Regions from separate parts of the Homo sapiens genome. Here region 1 is linked to region 2. The links are contacts of gene promoters, found by promoter capture Hi-C in blood cells and fetal thymus (Javierre and others, 2016). All regions are on one chromosome and are shown on one strand. The core of a region is centred on a gene start or on the middle of the fragment in contact, and the rest is flanking DNA. Distances in the headings are between cores, read along the strand shown. Region 1 overlaps PPFIBP2 (PPFIB scaffold protein 2). Region 2 holds the start of ARFIP2 (ARF interacting protein 2).

The links. Contacts are between HindIII fragments. The CHiCAGO score rates a contact against its expected background, and 5 or more counts as called.
Region 1: a fragment that was not itself captured here is called in contact with the fragment with the promoter of ARFIP2 in region 2 in 5 of 17 cell types (M0 macrophages, M2 macrophages, total B cells and 2 more); the score reaches 7.3 in M0 macrophages.

Annotation. Positions count from the first base shown.
Region 1 is chr11:7,521,273-7,524,004 of GRCh38, reverse strand. All of the region lies in intron 1 of PPFIBP2 (PPFIB scaffold protein 2), which reads right to left. The region is part of intron 1 of LOC124902806 (leucine-rich repeat extensin-like protein 5); the gene reads left to right. Among named protein-coding and RNA genes, the nearest start is that of PPFIBP2, 8.6 kb to the right of the region's middle. RefSeq lists a silencer at 2,221-2,421 and an enhancer at 2,499-2,678. The HindIII fragment of the contact is 3,283 bases long and covers 1-2,732 here.
Region 2 is chr11:6,480,052-6,482,932 of GRCh38, reverse strand. ARFIP2 (ARF interacting protein 2) reads left to right here and starts at 1,602. Exons shown (of 8, transcript NM_001376558.2): 1 at 1,602-1,702; 2 at 2,470-2,610; 3 at 2,865-2,881. The coding sequence starts at 2,512. TIMM10B (translocase of inner mitochondrial membrane 10B) reads right to left here and starts at 1,432. Exons shown (of 3, transcript NM_012192.4): 1 at 1,378-1,432; 2 at 1,081-1,176; 3 at 1-888. The coding sequence starts at 1,416. The coding sequence ends at 712. RefSeq lists enhancers at 1,324-1,373, 1,854-1,973, 810-2,009. The HindIII fragment of the contact is 2,521 bases long and covers 525-2,881 here.

The sequences.
Region 1 (2,732 bases), core at 172-2,671, 1.0 Mb before region 2:
GTGCAGTCACAGGAGTGGCCCTCCAGGTCAGAGTGAGAGGCCCAGCTGCATGTGATGGCTGCATTTCAACCATGCACACAAGTTACTGTGGAAGTGTAACTTTACCCTGGAGGGCAGGGACAAGAGTATCCCCACTAAACACACCTCACTGGCATCCCTAAGCAGGCAGAGAAATCCTGAGATCTGGATCACCTCCTTCCCTATTCCCAGGAGGAAAGAGACATACCTGAAGCAGAGCCACCTGGGAACACCACAGCGACCATAAGCCTGGGAAGAGGCAATGTAGGATCTAGTCCCCATAGCCTCCCTTGAGCTAACAAATCCCTTCCTGGAGATGCATTAGTGGTTCCTCCACCCACCTACTTCCTAAGAAATGGGAAGTGCAAATCTACGTCTGTAATCTGTGCAATTTGTGGCTGTCCCTGACACTTTACCATGGGTGAGCAGGCTCGTGCACATATTTTGGCCTTAATATGAAAAACAGAAACAAAAAACCTTCAGAACAAGATGAGGTATAAACTGGCAAGACCCCACTACAAAGCTCAAAAGAGAAAGGGAAGTTTGACAAGTTTTCCTTCAACGTTGGCTCCCAGTATTCTTTGTGTATATGTTTTTATTTGGCAACTACCACAACTCAGACAATAATTCAAATGTTTCACATTCATAAACCTGGCTCTTCCTCAAGAAACAGAAGTGACCACTGTGTCAGCGTCCATGACAAAGACAAGACTCCATCCTGGGAGGCTGGAGGCTGAGGAGCCTGGCTGGGCAAAGGTGTGTGGAAGGGAGGGGTGAGGAGGATTGAAGAACTCCAGCCTCAGGGCCACTGAGTCTCCCGACAGCAGTGCAGATTCCAGATAAGATCCTCACTCCTCATCGGACAGCTGTAGCCCTCATCCAGCCATCTGAGTCCCCGATCCTGACTCTACACCGGACCCTGCTTGGATGAGGTCCTCATGGCTGGTTGCCTTCCCTAGCTAGCTGTTCCCTGTACCCCCATCCCCACTCCAACACTATAAGAGGCAACTTCTCATGAACTGGCTGGATGTGCCCTGAAGTCTGGGTAGAGGAGGTGTTTGGGCCTTGGAATACAACTTCCCATGGAATTGATAAATTGATTGGTGGTTACATTCCCAGAAGAAAATTAATACACGTGCCCACATTGAGCATAATAAGTATAAGAGCGCTGATACCCTAAAAGTACTTCATATCTCCCATCAGCCCCACATACAGCTAGGCCACAGGGCAAAAAGGAGGCCTCATGAGCCTTCGGGCCCCCATGGCATTGGCAACTAGCAGACATTTCCCATCTGGGTGCTTGACCTATAAGACTCCAGCCTTAGCTGTTCTGCAGGCTGAATTCACCCCAAACCTGGTCTCATTCCCATTTTTCATTGCCTAATGGAATCTCCATCTCGACCTTCTGGCAGCTCTCCTCTGGCTAAACTCATGTGCTACAGAAGATAGAAGCCCAGGCCATAATGCCAGTAGACCTGGGTTCTACAATCAAGAGCTAAGTGATCTTGGGTAGGTTTCTCTGGGCTTCACCATCCTCTTATGGGTAAACATATAAAGGGCAAGCAAGAAACTACCCGAGGCTCCCTTCTGATTCCAAAAGAATCAACCACTTTCATTTCCCTTCCCCCTTCCACTAAGTTCCTCCATGCTTTCATGCTACTAACAGTTGCCTCATTCTTCTCCCAGCAAACTAACACACGTCAGTATCCAGTTTGACGCTTTTCTCTTTCCCTCAAATACAATCAGTCACCAAATCCTGCCGGATTTCTTGGCATGGTCACTTGCCTCTGCTCCCTTCTCTCTATTCCTACTGCCATTGCCTTGATTTAGGTCCTGAGCTACCTCAGTGGGTTATTCTAACAGCCTGTGCTCATAAGAAGTTCCTCCCTGTCCCTCCAACCTGCCCTTCCCAGCCACAATCATCCTGAACAGTTTTACCACGTCTTTTCCATACTTGAGTATGGAAACTTTAATGTCATCAGAATAAAATTTAAATTATATAGCTCCAACTTTCAAGGCCTTCCATGATCTCTTCCCAGCCTGGGACTCCATCTTCACCTCTCCCAGTGTCCACCCAACCCCCTGACTCTAGCCATATGGGCCCACTCTTCACTGGGCCTGTCCTTCCTCCCAGTCTTTCAGCTTCTGCTCCTCTTCCTTCTCTCGTCTACCATACGAAATAACCAGCCCCTTTCCCTCTTTACTGAGGTAAACATTGCAAAGCCAGCCAGCTTAAGGCCCATATCTACCACAGACTCCTCCTGGACATCTGCTAAGTGTGGGGCCACGCACAAGAGCTGATACAGCCCTAAAGCAGCTCAGAGTTTGGAGGAATATGGACAGAGACATAGACATAAAGTGATGAAATAGCATAGCAGATCTTTGTTTGATGTGATATGTATGTAACAGAAGAGTAAAAACGACTTAGGGGCAAGGGAGCTTTAAGAATTTGATCTATATCCTGAAGGATTAATAATCTTGCAGAATAGAGACAAAAGGGCTTTCCAGGAAGATAAAATAGTGTATGCAAATGCAGATAGGCACAAAAGAATAGAAATTACTCAGCTTCTCAGTTTGGGGAACAGTGGAGAGGCAGCTGGAGAGCTAAAGTAGGGCCCACCACTGTAGAGATTTGAATGCCATACAAGGATGGTGTATTTTATCCTATCAGAGAGACAGTCCTATTCCTTCTGTGTCTAGGCCTCCCATCTACA
Region 2 (2,881 bases), core at 353-2,852:
CTAACTTCCCAAGGAGGCAGTGCCCAAAAGCCCTGTGGTTTTTTGATCCGTTGTACTTCGATAGCTCCTCCTTTCCCTAGATCCAGCAGAACTCTAGACATGTAAGACATAGTTCACAAAACAACAGTTATGAACCAACAAATACTTGGCTCACGGTTATGAGCCACTGAAGTCAGTCAGACTTAAGGACAACTAGACAGAGCTCCCATTTTCTGTCATCTGGGCAGGAACCAATCTCCTGTTGTATAAAATGACCTTCTGGTACTTTCTGGAATCTTGCTTCCTCATCTGTTAAGTGAGGCTAATACCGCTTACTCATAGTTTTGTTGTGAAGATGAACTAAGAGCATGACATATTACCCGTTTTAAAATTGTACACACAGACCCTGCTTTAACCAGATGCCTGCAAATGCTCAGGTTTTCCTTCTACATATAGAAAACAATTTCTCAGCTGCCAGGGCTGAAGCCAGCAGATATGCACTAAACGACAGAACAACGGATTGTGCCAATAAAGTAGGCAAAGCTTCCTTGCCCAGAATATAAATCAAACTGAGTAAAAACTGGGTATATTGGCTCCAGGAAAAGGAGCAAGGACACCCAGCTTTCAGGCAACCTCGAATTCTCTCTGTTTAGGATTCACCAACCCCAAGGTCCACCGGGTCCTTCAATCTGAGGGTCCATCCAAGGCCTTCCTTCCTGGGGTTGGGTATGGCTAGCTGCCTGATGGAGAGACCCCAGGCTGTTCAGCAGCAACGCCTGGCACAGCCGAGGCAGCCTCGTAGTCTGCGATGCGGCGCTGTACCAGGGCAGGCATGAGCTGCACGTAAGCGGCCATGAGGCGGTGGTTGGAATGGATCAGCTTCCCAGCACAGCTGTGCAGACAGGCCTCCTAGAAGGAAGATAGGGTTTAAGTGGAGGATAAAGGTGCCCTGTCGGGTCCGCCTCCTTTCTTCCCCATGCCCAGCCTAGGGGTGAGGGTCGTGGGAAGGCCAGGGCCAGAGGTACGGGAAGTGGGGTGAGGAGGGAAGCAGTCTACCGCTAAACTCTTCTTGCAGCGTAACCTCCCTACACAGTTCCCCACCTCCTCAGCGTCCAGAGCTCGGTGGTGCAAGCTGGGCACACAGCGCTGGAAGCAGAGTTCTGTCATCCGATTGTAGACCAACAGGAAGTCACGCAGCTGAGAGAAAAGGGGGACCACAAACTCAGCGATAAGGGCCCCACACTTCTAGTCAAGGTCGCGCCGCCCAAAGTTTCCCAGGCCCGCGCGCCATAGCCCGAAGTTTCCAGCCCTCAAATCCCTGGCCCTGTGGGGTTCCCGCGATGTGTGCAGGAATGCGAGCTGAACGTCTGGCCTCGAAACGACTTAGTTCTCACTTACGTTTCGCAGTTGCTGTTGCTGCTGCTGCTGCCGCTCCATCACGCCACCGGCGCATGCCGTACGCCACTTCCGTTTCAGCTTCTCGGTGCCGCCCCGGAAGTAACCTCTCGCTGATCTCGAGAGCTAGCTCGAGTATCGCCCTGCCCTGGCTGCGACGTCAGCTCCGCCCTTATAATCTGCGACGTGGCCGGCTTCTTCTGCCCGGAGAGGACGTCATTTCCGCCGAGTCCCTGACCTGCTGCTAGGATCGCGACGGGAACTGGAGCCCGAGGTCCCCGCGCGGCCCGGGCCTGGCGCCCTGAGGGGAAGAGCGGCCCGGCCCGAGGTGAGAGGAACATGCTTGGGCGACGGGAAGTTGAACGCACAAACCTGTCCAGAGGGCAAGATGCCCCGAGCCCCGGGGAAGGATGAGGACACACCTGATGTCCAGGTGTATGGGGGTGGGGGCGGGGACTCACACACCTGGGAGACATAACTGACTGTGGAAGGGTCACCGATATCCTGGGAGAGAGAGGCTTTTACCAGAGACTGGGAACATACACCCACTGATCTAACTAAGGCCTGGTGGGGAGGGCCCGAGGAAGACGAGGTGTATGAGACGGAGGAGGGGAGACCCCCTGAAGGAAGGGGGAAGAAACGCTAAAGGAATGTGAAAGGCCAAGCAATGGAGAACAAACCTGAATAGGGGGGTGAAGACCTGAGCCCTGGAAAGGGTTCATCTCCTCAGCATAAACACGCCTGCATGGAGATAAGTTCTAAGAGAGCAGACTTTCCCTCTTCACTGTTGTATTTTCATTGTCACAAATAGTGCCTGACACATAGTAGGCACTCACTAAATGTCTGCTGAATGAGTGTAGAAATAATCACCAGAGTCCTGGTGAGGTTGGGGGCTTGTGAGAAGACACCGTGCTTTGGTGTGCCTGTTTCAAATGTGCGTTTTGGAGGGGAGAAATACATATATCTGAAGAAAGGAATGATGGCCAAACGCTGGGACACTCAAACCCTGGGACAGCCTTTAAAGAAATGACAGAGGAGGCCTCCTTCTTCTAGAGTGCTGGCCAGTGTCCAGAACTTCTGTGTTGGGCTTTGCAGGGTGCTGGGGTGGAGAGTTTTACTCCAATACCTTTCCTAGCCATGACGGACGGGATCCTAGGGAAGGCAGCCACAATGGAGATCCCTATCCACGGGAACGGCGAAGCCAGGCAGCTTCCTGAAGATGATGGGCTGGAGCAGGTGCTTCTGTTTGATTCTTCTAATTGTTTCAATTTAGGAATCCAATTTATAAATCCTAGGTTCTCACCCTCCATTCCAGTAGCCTTCCCCTGACTTATCTGACTCCCTTCATTCTTTTTACGTATCATTTTGATTCTGTGCAGACTTCCCTTGTGTACTATCTTTATGATGCTTGAATCCAAACTTGTTCCCACCTCCAAAATGCTTCTGCAGCCCCTATGTTCCTGAAGCAACCCCTCTTCTCTGGCCTATAGGACCTCCAGCAGGTGAT